2 separate regions of the Homo sapiens genome follow, and region 1 is linked to region 2. Evidence: promoter capture Hi-C in 16 types of primary human blood cells and fetal thymus (Javierre and others, 2016). All regions are on one chromosome and are shown on one strand. Each heading gives the region's core, a stretch centred on a gene start or on the middle of the fragment in contact. The rest is flanking DNA. Distances are from core to core; before and after follow the strand shown. Region 1 has its middle 27 kb from the start of NFIL3. Region 2 holds the start of SYK (spleen associated tyrosine kinase).

Region 1 (7,589 bases), core at 2,584-5,083, 590 kb before region 2:
AGCGTAAGAAAGAATGAACAACAGGTCATTTTTGAGTATGCCTTTTATGTATTTTAAACATACACAGTCACAGTGAGTGCTAAGGCAAGAGCCCTGCTGGCATTTCCTTTGCCCCCTCTTCCCACAATTGTGATTGAAGAACTAGGTGACCAGGCCGCAAGTGACAGCAGATTTGGAAGCTGCTTCAGAGGAATGTTCTGCCTTTGCAGAGGGGAATTGTTTCCCTGGGGACATGGCTGGCACAGCTGGACTCCGTGAGCGCCAACTCCCGAGGAAGTGTGGTCCTCTGGGCTTCTGCGCGATGCCACTAACATTGGGCTTCTGCACAATGCCACTAACATTCACTGTACTTTGAGAGCTCTTCCTGTGTCCCAGAAATAGCCTTTCGCAGAGGTCGGCAGGGAAATTTAAGTCACCTGGCCACGTGCACAGAGTGGGTAGGTGAGGAGCAAGGAGGTGACTTTGAGAGCCACACTCCTAATCGCTATGCGACACTTCCTTAGGTCTGAGCTGGTAGCATTTTTAAGGGCAAAAAAATCATGGGGGAGAGGGTGAGAAGCATAATAACTATTTTACTCCCCCAGTTTAGGCTGCAAGAGCCTAAACTAGTCTGTGGGCTATCACTACTGTCCCCAGTGCCAGTGAGCCCTGCACCATCTACCACACTGTGCCTACTGCTACAGGCCGACCACCTCCCCAAAGCCCACATTGAGACACACTGCCCACCTTCTTTTTTGGGGGGAACAGGATCTCACTCTGTCGCCCAGGCTGGAATACAGTGGTGCAATCATGGCTCACTGCAGCCTTGACCTTGATGATTGCTTGCATGGCTCAAGCAGTCATCCCGCCTCAGCCTTCCAAGTAGCTGGGATTACAGGTTCGTGGCACCATTTTTTTTTTAATGCTAAATTTGAAGTTTTTAAATTTTACATTTAAAGTTCGCGCCACCATAATTTTTAAATTTTTTTTTAATAGAGACAGGGTTTCATGATGTTGCTCTGACTGGTCTAGAACTCCCGGGCTCAAGCAATCCTTCCGCCTTGGCTTTCCAAAATGCTGGGATTATAGGCATGAGCCACTGTGTCTGGCCACATTGCCCCCCTTCTAAAAACCTCAGGAGACCCTCTTGGTTACAAATAACAACGCCTAAACCTCCTTGTCTGAAACTTAAGACCCTTAACATTTCAGCTGATACTAACCTTTCCTAGCGTATCTCCCATTCTCTGTGAATTCCAGACTGTGGGTTGCAACTGCACTGGCTTGTGCCATGAATGCCAGGGACACTAGCCAGCATTTCAGATGCAGGAACAGATGACATGGCAGTGCATTCAAGGTAGCAAGTCAAGCTGCAGTTTCAAGAAACACACATCCTGACATGTTTGCATTTCCAATGTAAAATGCATCTCTTATGATAGGTCTCTGCTGAAGCAAAGTCTTGAAAGCCGTGATTTCATACCACTGATGTGAACTGTTCTCCCTGGAACCCAGGAAGCCCACAGAGAGGCTTTACTGGCCTCTGGGAGGCAAAAGAAGGGGGCATGAAAGCCTAGGTCTCAAGGCCCAGTTCTCCTCTCATTAGTGCTCCTCTTTTTCGTGTGTGTGTGTGTGTGTGTGTGTGTGTGTGTGTGTGGTATTGGGCTTCTACCTGGTAAAAGAGTTCTGCTCTTCCCTACTCTGTGACAACATTCTTCATCACCCCATATCCTGGGTGCTCTTCTGCTTCCACGTCTACAGCACGCGCCTGCCCTGGCATCCATCATACAGCTCTTTTCCTGTAGCATTATTCAAAGTAAATTCTGATACAAGAAAATTAGGACTACCTTTTCAAGACAATCATTTTCTAGGTTAGATAATATCTGTGTACTACTGGCATTACTGTTCTTTCCATCTAAAAATCAGCCCTCTTAAATGGTACCCCTTGAAAACAACTTGAATAAATTAAGTAGTACCTTGCCAGATTCTGGAAATGCAAAACAAAAATGTCCTAGTATTTTAGACCAGTGGTTTCCAACTTTTGTTTATCCCACAGTCCTAGCTATTAAAAAAAAAAAAGAAAAAAGGAAGAAAAGAAAAGAAAAGAAAAAAGTACATCTATCTATGTATCTATTATCTACTTTCCTCCCTATCTATCAACCATCTATCATCCATCTATCATCTGTCTATCCACCCATTAACTCATCCATCTAGCTGTTATCTATTTACTTATCTACCCATACATACATCATACATCTATCTATCTATCTACCTATCTTTTTATCCATCCATCCACCCATCCTTCTATTCGATGAGAAAGTGCAGGTACTAAAGTCAGTTAGAATATTAAATATTAATAAACCTTGCTGAGTGGGGTGGCTCATGCCTATAATCCTAGCACTTTGGGAGGCCAAGGTGGGCAGATCACTTGAGGCCAGAAGTTTGAAACCCTATCTCTACTAAAAATACAAAAATTAGCTGGGTGTGGTGGTACACACCTATAATCCCAGCTACTTAGGTGGCTGAAGCACGAGAATTGCTTGAACCCAGGAGGCGGAGGTTGCAGTGAGCCGCTGCACTCCAGCCTGGGTGACAGAGCGAGAACTGTCTCAAAAACAGGAATAAATAAAATAAATATTATTAAAGCTTAATGTATCTCATTTTCAGACAAATAAATATGAAAAATAATTCCAATATTCTCCCTGCATCACAAAGGATAATTTTGTAAACATACTGGGCATCATCCTTGGACCCCAGTAAAGACCACTGCTTTGTATGAGGAGGGATTGGAGGTAGAGGAATGGCAGCTTTTCATATACTTGATCAGCTAATTGGGTTTTTACAAAAAAAAAAAAAGGTAAGGCACATTTTGACATCCCAGTTTAAAGCTTTTAGATGTTTCCAAATGTTAAAAATATACACACATCTCTATTTCTTCTTCTCCCTATTTCTTCTCACCAGCTTGGATTTTAATGGCTAAGATAGCCTTATAGATGGTTTCCAGTTTTGAACTATTTTTGACACCTGCACTATATTTTAAAATTGAGGCTATGTTTGTCTTATAACATGCCTAAGACTTGTTTATTACCTAAAAATGAACAAGGAAAGTCATAGCCTGCCTTAGTGTTCTTCCAGTGGACAGGAAAAAGCTTCTACCACTGAGCAGTTTAATGAGGCAATGGGAAACTACATAAAGTTTGGCTTTGAATCCATCAGGAATTGTGTTGATTCAAGGCACCAGAAAGCTCCTTATAGAATATAAGGCCAAAGAATATAAGATCCCCCTGTATTTTATTTTATTTTATAATTTTTTGAGACGGAGTTTCGCTTGTGTTGCCCAGACTGGAGTGCAATGGTGTGATCTTGGCTCACTGCAACCGCCGCCTCTCAGGTTCAAGCGAATTCTCCTGCCTCAGCATCCTGAGTAGCTGGGATTACAAGCATGTGCCACTACACCAGGCTAATTTTTTTTTTTTTTGTATTTTTAGTAGAGACGGGGTTTCACTATGTTGACCAGGCTGGTCCCGAACTCCTGACCTCAGGCGACCCACTCTCCTAGGCCTCCCAAAGTGCTGGGATTACAGGTGTGAGCTACCGTGCCCGGCCAAGTTCCCCCTTTAAAATTTGTAAATTCTTTCAGGGCTAGCATTCAAATAGGCTTTGAGGGAAAGCAATCACCTATTAAATTCTTTGTGAGAAACATCTCTGGATTAAACTTGAGAGGGATTCCATCTGGTCTCTGACCTTTGAGCTTCTTTATAATTACAACTGACCCCAAAGTCATTGTATTTTGCAGTTTTCTACCTTGGGTTCCAGCAGCCTTCATGATATTTGTAAGATATTAAAATTACCATCTGCTATTGCTTACTATGTCTTAGGCTTCTGATGTGATAAAAGTATTAATTATTTTAAGCAGTACATTTTTAAACTTCTTATCCTCTTTTATGAATGCTCACTAATGAATTCTTATTAAGCCATTAAGGTAAGTATGGTAATTTATTATTACATTTTTTTTCCTATAAAATGGGAACAGCTTGTCTGGATTTGCATCTATAATGGTAACAGTAGCTTCAAGAACATCTGCTTTGGTGTTAACTTCTAATAGGCCTTGCGTGGAGCAATCTGTTCTCCATGTATGGGACCCAGTCATTACTCACGTTCCTGAGAAAAGATGGCACCAAGTCAACTACTGCTGGTTTTATTTGTATTATTTTTAAGTCATTTTATTTTTTGCTGTAGATATCCTGTAATTGAAACATACTACTTACTTATAAGAATTCTACTAAAATTCCACTTCTATACTAGGACTAAAGTATTAAATTAGGAAGAAACATACATAGTACATTCAAATAATGCATATTTCATGAATCTTTGAGGTATTCTTGCCATTTGAGGAATTCCTGAAATGAGTCATAACCCACAGGATACATATCCGCAGAACTTTTGTTTTGTGACTTGCAGCAGCAAGTCGCTTACAACCAGTTTTACACATGTTTGTCTGGTTTAACTTCCTAAAATACAAATGTGGTCAACCCAATCTTCTGATTTCTTACTTTACAGACTAAGCTTTGCTATTCAAAGTGTGGTCCAGGCTCCAGCAGCGAGAATCTGACATGGAATCTTCTAGAAATGCAGACTAGCAGGCCCCTCTCAGAATCAGAATCTGCACTCTAACAAAATCCCCAGGTGATACATCATACTCATTAAAATGTGAGAAGTAAGATCTATAGGAACGGCCCCCAAAAAAGTCTGTCTTGGTGAAACTAGTGAAAAATGAAGAACCACAAAACAGTGAGTTTGTCATAAAGCTAAAGGTATCTAACGTTTTTAGTAGACAAGTATGAAATCTCCCCCTCCCTGCACTGCCACACTCCAATCTCTTTTCCATCCTCAGCGTCCTTGTTCCCACCTTGCACAACTCTGGGCCTCTGCACATGAAGCTTCTTCCATTGGGAATCCCCATCCCTGTCTGACAAACTCCTTTGAATTCTTCAAGACCCACTCAGTTTCTACCACATCTGTAAAGACATTCTCAGTGGTGTCCCTACAATGCCGTACTCATGCTGTGATTATAGTGTTTCTCACATTATATAAAATGTTGTTCATGTGTCTGTCAACACACCTAGACCATGTGCTCCTCAAAAGCAGGACTGTGTCCTCTCCGTCATTGTCTCCTCAACTCCTAAGAAAGACAGACACAAACTAGTTGCTCAATATGTTTGCTGAATGAATGTGACCTATGTGGAAATAAGCACCAGCAGAGACAGTTATTGTGAAATACTCCATTTGATAGGTTGAATGTGGTACATAGAAAGGCTGTCGGTTCAGGAGACCACTTGCTAGAAGACTTTGGTCAAGTCACTTAATCCTTCTGTGCCTCAGTTTCTTCACTTGTAAAATAAGAATACCTGATTTCTCTGAATGCATTGGATTATTCTGAGGGTAAAATGCAAGGAATTATAAAAGAATCTTTAAAAGTTAAAAAGCAGGAACATCAAACACATGGTTAAACATCAATATGAGGCAGTAATCTTTTTTTTAATGTACCATTAGAATGAAGACATACTATATATGAGTATTTGTGGCTCTTTTGGTTTTCTAGAGCTGCTGTAACAAAGTCCCACAGTCTGGAGGCTTAAACAACAAAAAATCTATTTTCTTGTAGTTCTGGAGGCTAGAAGTTTAAGATAAGGTGTTGGCAGGGTTGGCTCCTTCTGAAGCCTCTCTCCTTGGCTTGCAGATAGATGACGTCTTCTCCCTGCATCTTCACATGGTCTTCTGTGTGTGTCTGTGTCCTCTAACTCTCTCTTTTTATAAAGACACCTGTCAGATTGGGTGAAGGCCCACCCTACTGACCTCATTTTAACTCAATTGCCTCTTTAAAGACCCTGTCTCCAAATATAGTCGCATTCTGAAGTACCAGGTGTTAGGACTTCCACTTACAAATTTTGAGGAAGACAATTCAGCTCTTAATAGTGACTTATTTAACTTTACACAATAAGTGTTTGTGGCATTTTAATAAAGGTAAGGTACCTCCTACCTGCTCTATCCATTCCTCAAATCCAGCCGGTTGTTAGGGTTCCCGATTTTTTTTCCAACAGTAGGCCATTCAGAAATGCAAAGCACCATTCAGTTAATAATGGTGCGCCAAGACGGTTCAGACTTGGTAAGTGGGATTTCATTCGAACATGACTCAAGTGGAGAAGGAGGTTTTTACGATATTTTTAACGTTATAAAAATATAAAAGAAATATAATATAGAAGTATAGAAAGAAAAATTTAAAACTTCCCCTTCCCCAATCTGATCCCCCCAAGATGACCAATGTGAAGTGGTTTAATGTGTATTTTTCCATATTAAAAGTGCTTATATATGCAAACCTACACAAAAAACATATGCACATATGGAGTCTCCATATGGAGGCATTTTCACACCCATTTTACTTTTGTCAGTAACCCATCATACTGTCTCAGTTTCATGATGTAATTGCAGTGGAATTACATTTAACAGCTCAAAGTTACATATAATCAACACATTTCGATGGCGGTGGAGGAGGCAAGCAATGTGCCTCTTACTTGCCGGTGAGCCCCAGGGCTCTACTACCTCCTCATGCAGACTTAGTCGGTTGGCCGCCATGATGGTTAATTTTAGGTATCGACTTGACTGGACTTAAAGGACACCCAGATGCTGGTAAAGCATTATTTCCGGGTGTATTTGTAAGAGTGTTTCTGGAAAAGATTACCATTTGAATTGGTAGACTGAGTAAAGAGGGTAGCTCTTCCCAGTGTGAGTGGGCATCATCCAATTTGTTAAGGGCCCACACAGAGCAAAAGGGCAGAGGAGGGGCGAATTTGATCTCTTCCATTTGAGCTAGGACATCCATCTTCTCCTGGCCTCAGACATCAGCACTCTGGGTTCTCCGGCATTTGGACTCCGAGACTGACACCGTCACTTCACTGTTCCTGATTCTCAGGCCTTCAAACTCAAACTGATTTACATCACTGGCTTTCCCGAGTCTCCAGCTTGCAGACAACAAATTGTGGGACTCCTTGGGCCTCCATAATTACGTGAGCCAATTCCTATGCTAAATCAATTCCTCTGTCTTGTGTGTGTGTGTGTGTGTGTGTGTGTGTGTGTGTATAAATCTATACAACCGCACAGTGAACTCTTAACTCACAAGAGTCAACCTCTAAGATGCTGTCCTCTGTTTGTAGCTTTATACTGATTTATTTTCTTTTTTTTTTTTTTGAGAAGGAGCCTTATTCTGTTGCTAGGCTGGAGTGCAGTGGCGCAATCTCAGCTCACTGCAACCTCTGCCTCCCGGGTTCAAGTGATTCTCCTACCTCAGCCTCCTGAGTAGCTTGGATTACAGGAGCCCACCACCACACCCAGCTAATTTTTGTATTTTTAGCAGAGACGGGTTTCACCATGTTGGCTAGGCTGGTCTTGAACTCCTGATCTCAGGTGATCCACTCGCCTCGGCCTGCAGCAAAGTGCTGCAATTACAGGCATGAGTATACTGATTTCTTGAGTCACTTGAAGCACAAGTCTCTCATTTTTAAGAAGCTAAATTTACTTACTACTATGCTTAATTTAAATGTTGTTTTTCTGGCTTTAAT
Region 2 (7,419 bases), core at 1,760-4,259:
CCCACAATCCCTCAGTAGAAAACCCTTTTTTCCTAGTATTCAAATCCAACCTGTTCAAATCTAAGTAGAAGAGGAAGGTGATAAGACACAAATGAGGCAATTTGATCATAATCTCTCATTAGGACTCTGCCTTCTGATTTTAGTTGCTTTAGAAGAAAAAGTAATGCTCAATGTGTAGACTTCTAAAACAAAACAAATTCTTCCCCAAAGGCCTAAATTCCTGTTGTTGTTGTTGTTTTCTCCACCCAGTTATAGCTAAACCAATCCAGAAGTAGTGGAAAATGTTAAAACCAGCAAAGCAAGAGTAGAAAAGTCAGGGGGTAGCTGGAAAAAAATCTATACAGGGAAAGTTGAGAAAGTAAAAATTAGCCATCACTTAGGCTTAGATAACTGACACAAACCCAGCTGGTTGCAAAGTTAACAGGAAATAATATTTCTTCCATGGACAGACTGCAGCTGTAAAGGGTGACAGTAACCCCTCCTGTAAGTAACTTCTGCTCTGTTTCTCTAAAATGGTAGACTGTCAGAAACTATGCTGTTTGAAATTATATTACAAAGATGAGACATCCACTCTTACTTGAAGTACCTCTATTTTGATCGGTATGATTGAAAATTCAGTAAAATCTTGCTATTTAAGACTCCCTAAAGAGAGAGGAACTGCCCTTCTAATTACTGGAAAGTGTGAAGTATTGAACAACATAAATGCACTTTCCTTTTAAAAGCAAACCGTAGTTCAGTGGAGTCTAATACAGACTCAGTCCCTCAGCTGCAGCTCTAAAAAGCTCTGAAAAACAACACTTTTTTTTTTTTTGGTAAGTCTTAGAGAAGCTCTCGTAGTGATAACACCTGCTCTAAACAGACACACAGCTCTTTATAGTCTTTATTTATTCCACTTAGTGAGAATATTCATGTTCTTAAATGTAAAAGTACAGAAATATTAATGCATGGAATTACAGGATTCTCTCCAGACTATATTGGAATGGCATGTAACCAGCAGGGTCAACATGTATGTTTACCTTTCTAAATTCTGAGCAATGTCTTTCTCAGTTCTGAAATTTAGATTCTAAATTTTAATTCCAAATTCTGAAAAAGCTTGAATTCCAAAATACGTCTTGGCACAAGCATATTGGATTATAACCATGGGCAAACAATGTGCTAAATAAGTGAAGTTCTACTAAGAAGTCTTCCATTAAAAAAAAGCAGAGAGATTAGACCTGCATTTAGAATATTAAATAGGGGCCTAACAAAGATCAGGGTGATTCATTTCTAAAGTGAAATCTAGCAATAAAATAACGTTTCTACCAATTTCATCTCTCAGGAAAGATAAAGACCTAAAGTATACACCCCATTTTTATCCTAGCTTAAAACTTTCTAGTTATTAAGACTATTATAAAATCCTATTTTATATTTCACTTCAAATACAGAGGCTTAAAAAAAAATCTTCCCACAATCCCTCAGTAGAAAAATCTCTTTTTTCCTAGTGTTCAAATCCAACCTTTTCAAATCCAAGGTAGAAGAGTAAGAGGATAAGACACAAATCAAGTAATTTGATTATAATCTCTCATTCAAATACACTTTAAAGTGCACTTCAAATACAGGGGATAATACAAATCAATTTCTGTTTTAATGCAAGAGTTTTCTAAATACGTTAAAACAAAAGTGCCGTTCAGAACAAAAATGATTTGATAAAATAATTTCAACTGACAAAGATTTCTCACTTAAAACACTTAATAATTTACATGTATTTAAGCCTTTTTGAGAAAATATAATTCTATCTATGCACTGCTCGGACTTTCACTGGGGAGAAGGAGGACATCAATGTATTTAGTTGCATTTAATTAAAATGCTGCCTGTGTGAAGGCAATGAATTTGTCCCTACTAAGACAAAGAAGTCAGATGGTAGAATCAATTCCATTTCTTCCAGGAACTCTTAGGGATTAAATGGTTCCTTTTTTTATTTTTAATACCAAGAATCAGATATGGCACAACATCTTCAACTCTTTTTTTTTTTTACTACACGCTGCAATGCTTTGAACTCTACTTGAGTTCGACTGAATCTTTGCTAAGTCAGGCAAAACTCAAAAAATATTTTGCAACACTGTTTCCAACGTAAAAAAAGATTCAAACTCTCACTTCTCCAATTGTCTTTCTAGTCCTTGAACATTCCAACAAAAGAATGGATTGCATTTATATAGTTTTTAGGTGGGCTTAAGGTTTTGGAGCCACATTGCCAAAAACAGACAAACAGACAAAAAGAAACACCCTTAACTCTTAACTCAAATTTACATTTTACTACATAAAACTTTCTTGCTCTCCAAGTTCATTGGCTAAGTAAATTACTTGACAATGAAAATGTATCCACAAGAGTAATTATGCTAAATTTTAGTAGTGGTTCAGAAGGGTTGTTGTTTGAATGCAACTGCTGTTTCTTTTTGTAGTAAAAGATTTGTCTAAGCTCATAAGACGTCTGGACATTTCTACTTTGAGTAACTTTGATAAACACTGCGGCATTTTCCAGTGGATTCGTGTAAATGGCCAAAGGAAAATGTTCTAGCTCCAAGATCGACTTCCTCGCGCTGTGCCTGATCCCAATCCCGCGTCTCCCGAGGGCCGGGCCGCGACCGCACTTTCCGCGCTCCCTGGGGGCCTGGGCGCCCTGGGGTGCCCGGGTCACTTTCCGCACGGTCTGACCTCCGTCCCCTCCGCCCAGGCCTGAGCCCCTCTCTCCCGGCGCAGCTTCTGGATCCCGAGCGCGGGTAGGTTCAGGAGCGAAGCTGGCGGAACCCACCTGTATTTTATTCACATGGTTTCAGCACTTTTACCTCGGCCGATGAAGGTAGAACAAGAAAGGGCATGAAAGCAGCGCGTCGTTCCCCGTAACCTCCTCTCCTTACCAGAAAGTCCCGGCCGGGTAGGGGACGCGGCCACACCTACCTGCGCCAGGTGAGGCGAGGGCGGGCGCAGCGCGGGGCCACCCGCTCCTCCTCGCTCTCCAGCCGCCGCCGGGGTGGCCTCAGCCGCCGGGCCCGCGGCTCTTCCTCATTTTGGGCAACTTCCTTAACGCGCCCGGGCAGGCGGCCCGCACTTCCTCCCAGTGTCGCGCCCCGCCGCCCTGGCCCGCCCTGCTGACCGCGCCCATGAGCCCGGAGCTGGGCGGGAATCGGCTGAAGCGCCGGGCGAGGCCCGCGGAATCGGCCCAGGCGGCGGCAGGTGTAGAGGAGCCCGGGTGGGGCGCGCCTCTCTCCTCCCGCCGGACAAGGGCCCTTCGCAGGCAGAGAAGGTGGGGCTGCCCGGGACATGGACCGCATCGGTCCCCCTCCTCCCCGCCAGCGCGGTGGCTTCTGTGACTGCCCAGGACCCACAGACACCCAGCGGCCCTTTCCTTTTGCTATGCAGTGCCGGGGAAGAGACTCCACTGCATGGCATATTCCCTGGAGTGTATCTTGGTCACCAAACCAACAAGCTCCAAGCTACTGTGCTGGAGCACTCGGGAGGCCTGGGCAGTGCTGAGAGGGACCCTGTAGGTGAACACCAGACTTCACGGCGCACTAGTGGGCAATGGGGCACGCTGCTTCTGAAGGCTTTAATTATTACAAAAGGCTTTGCTTCCTTCTTACCATGACGGCTCTGACGTCCACAACCAAATAAATTAAACCTATAGCCCTAAGAATGGTTTTGAGATACCCGCCTGATACCCTTCTCCCAACCCATCCCCCTTTTCCTTTTGGACATTCCTCTTTAAAATGTTCCCACAAAACGGCATCCAGACCTTCTTGATAACACTGGTTGGCAGTGCCTGTTTTAAAAAGCTTTACCCTAAGCCAAAATGCGAGAAGCAAAAAAATATATATATAATGTGCTGGATTGTAATTGCCATGGAGAAAATATAGGGATGGGACTATTTACACTTATTGGAGCCCCCAGCCTTTTCTGCTTCCAGGGTTATTGGATTTTCATTCATTTTTGCCATTATTTTTTCTAAACCTGTTAAAAGAAAACTTCAGCAGAATTAAATTTAAAGCAGTTTAATTGAGTAATGAATGATTTGCGAATGGGGCAGCTTCCAGAATCACAGCGGATTCAGAGACTCCAGGGATGCCTCATGGTCAGAACATATTTATAGACAAAAAAAGGGAAGTGACATACAGAAATTGGAGGTAAGGCAGAGAAACAACTGGATTGGTTACAGGTTGGCTTTTGCCTTCTTTGAACACAGTTTGAACACTCAGCAGTGTATGAATGGTTGAAGTATGGCCACTGGGATTGGCCAAGACTCAGCTATTGTTAAAGGCACATACTCCTAAATTAGGTTTTCAATCTTGTCTGCCTATTAAGCTAGGTTACAGTTCATCCACAAGGACTCAAATATAGAATACAGAGTCCTTCTCAGATCATACTTAGGTTGCTTTAACAAACATAAATGGAAGATTTTGATAATGGTTATATTTGCTTATCATTGGACTTAATTTTGCTTCAACTACCCGAAAAAATAGCCATTGTTCCTGAGATGGAGCCTGCAGAATGTCTACAGATGGTTTTCAGAGTTGTCAGCATTATTGGAGATGAACACTAGGGGACCAGTGTGTACAAAGCAAACCCAGCCTGCACAAAGATTGCAGTTTTCTCAGGCTTTCACCTGATGGAAATGAGGGGGAAATTCTAGATCCATCTACAACCTCCTTCCTTTACACTGCTGTGTTCCTTTCCCCCTTTGAGTCACCTTCCGCATTACTTAGTATCATGTAGTAATTTTTTTTTTTTTTGAGACGGAGCCTCACTCTGTTGCCCAGGCTGGAGTACAGTGGCCCGATCATCTCAGCTCACCGCAAGCTCTGCCTCCTGGGCTCACGCCATTCTCCTGCCTCAGCCTCCCGAGTAGCTGGGACTATAGGCGCCCGCCACCATGCCCGGCTAATTTTTTGTATTTTTAGTAGAGACGGGGTTTCACCGTGTTCGCCAGGATGGTCTCGATCTCCTGACCTCGTGATCTGCCTGCCTTGGCCTCCCAAAATGCTGGGATTACAGGCGTGAGCCACCATGCCTAGCCTAAAAGATGGTTCACATTATGTATCATCAGGGAAATGCAAATGAAGACAGTAAGATATCAGTATGGCCCAAATTCGGAACACTGACCGCAGTGAACACTAGTGAGGATGTGAAGCAATAGAAATACTCATTCATTGCTGTTGTGAATGCAAGATGGTACAGCCACTGTGGAAGACAGTTTGGCAGTTTCTTATGAAACTAAACATCCTCTTACAACATGAGTAATTATAAGAGGATTGTCCTTCTTGGTATTTACCCAAAGTAGTTGGTATTTACCTAAAGTAGTACCCAGTAATTGTGCTTCTTGGTATTTACCCAAAGGAGTTCAAACCTTATGTTCACACAAAAATCTGCACACAAATGTTTACGCTGGCTTTATTTACTAAGTTTATTGCCAAAACTTGGACACAAACAAGATGTCATTCAGTAAGTGAATGGATATATAAACTCTTGTACATCAGTGTAATGGAATATTGTTCCACACTAAAATGAAATGCACTAGCAAGTTATGAAAAGAAATGGATGAAATCTAAATGCATATTACCAAGTGAAAGAAGCCCTCTGAAAAGGCTACATACTGTATAATTTCAACAGGTGATATTCTGGAAAGAGCCAAACTATCTGGATAGTAAAAAGATCAGTGGCTGCCATGGGCTGGTGGGGAGGGCAGGATGAATAGAAGGAGAACAGAGATTTTTTAGGGCTGTGAAAGTATGCTGTATGATATTACAATGGTGGATACACAGCACTATACATTTGTTAAACACCATACAATATACAACACCAAGAGGGAACATCAGTGTAAACTTCAGGCTTTGGGTGATTATGATGTGTCAAAGTAGGTTCATCAATTGTAACAAATGTACCAGTCTGATGGGGCTGTTGATAATGGGAAAGGCTGTGCATGTGTGAGGTCAGTGGGTATATGGGAAACCTCGGTACCTGCCTCTCATTTTTACTGTGAACCTAAAACTGCTCTAAAAAATAGTGTTTAATTTAAAAAAATAGTTTTTTTGGTAACAGTGGCAAGTATTCCTAATAGGCAATCCCTTAAAAGAATAAAAGCACAAAGGAAATAGAAACATCCCAAATTTCAGACATAATCATCATTACCGTTAGGTGACCCTTACAAAATTATCTCTTTCTATATGTACACATGGCAATAGATATAAAAATGGGCATCATTTTAAATATAATACATTTATTATACATTTTATCCATGTTAAATATGATATTTAATTCTACTTAAATTTAACAGAATAAAAAATTCTGAAATGGGATCTAAAGAATTGCTGATTTTATAGAAATGATTCTTTGCCACAAATGTATCATTTCTGAAATGACCCCACTTTGATTAAAGGAAAAGAAAAGTGACAATAATAAGCAGTTTTCGTCATTTCTTCTAAACCATGAGCTTTAATTTCAGACAGTATCAGTAACTCTGCTATGATACATGAACCAATTACCTCTCTCACTCCACTTCACTTCAGCTCACCTCTCACGTTTCCCTAGTTATATGAGTTTTACATAGTTAAGTTTAAAATTTTTGATTTCTGTAACCATAAACCCTCAGTGGTCTCTTCTTAGTTCTCCATTTAAAAGGATACCTTATGCACCTCCAGACCTTTCTACCACCATATCTCATTCCTACTTTCTTTGTTGATGAGCTGGATGGACTCTGTGAAGATGTGATCCCACATACTGCATCTATCAATGCTCTCCACTTTCAGGATGTTATTCTGTTGCTGTTGTATTGCAGTGACATCAAGGTGGGCACATTGTGTCTCCATCCTACTTCCCTTTGGCCTAGACTCGGTTGATTTTCCTCCCTTGCCCCTTTGGCATTGAATGTTGTTTTGGAGAAATGTGAGAACAGCCAGTCCTTTGTCCTCTTTTAGGTGACTTGCTCTTCTTTCCAGGCTGCTGGAGGAAACTTTCTTTAACTGAGATATTAAGAAACTTGACAAGGATATATACTGATACAGATCAACCAGCATCTTTTATTTCTTTTTCTTTTTTTGAGATGGAGTTTCACTCTTGTTGCCCAGGCTGGTGTGCAATGGCGTGATCTTGGCTCACTGCAACCTCTGCCTCCCAGGTTCAAGCAATTCTCCTGCCTCAGCCTCCTGAGCAGCTGGGATTACAGGCGCCCGCCACCAAGCCCAGCTAATTTTTTGTATTTTTAGTAGAGACAGAGTTTCACCATGTTGGCCAGGCTGGTCTCGAACTCCTGACCTCAGGTGATCATCCTGCCTTGGCCTCCCAAAGTGATGGCAGGAGTCACCACACCCGGCCATCTTTTATTTCTTAAACACAATGCACTCTTTAATGCACATCATAATCACCCAAAGCCCAAAGTTTGCATTGAGGTTC

What was found. The method cuts DNA at HindIII sites, captures the fragments that hold promoters and counts their contacts. A CHiCAGO score of 5 or more calls a contact.
Region 1: a contact is called between a fragment that was not itself captured here and the fragment with the promoter of SYK in region 2, in 1 of 17 cell types (neutrophils). The highest score is 5.3, in neutrophils.

Annotation. Positions count from the first base shown.
Region 1 is chr9:91,392,831-91,400,419 of GRCh38, reverse strand. No RefSeq gene overlaps it. Among named protein-coding and RNA genes, the nearest start is that of NFIL3, 27 kb to the left of the region's middle. The HindIII fragment of the contact is 1,417 bases long and covers 3,125-4,541 here.
Region 2 is chr9:90,797,409-90,804,827 of GRCh38, reverse strand. It overlaps SYK (spleen associated tyrosine kinase), which reads right to left and starts at 3,009. Exons shown (of 14, transcript NM_003177.7): 1 at 2,935-3,009. RefSeq lists silencers at 2,871-3,030, 3,051-3,260. The HindIII fragment of the contact is 2,717 bases long and covers 1,095-3,811 here.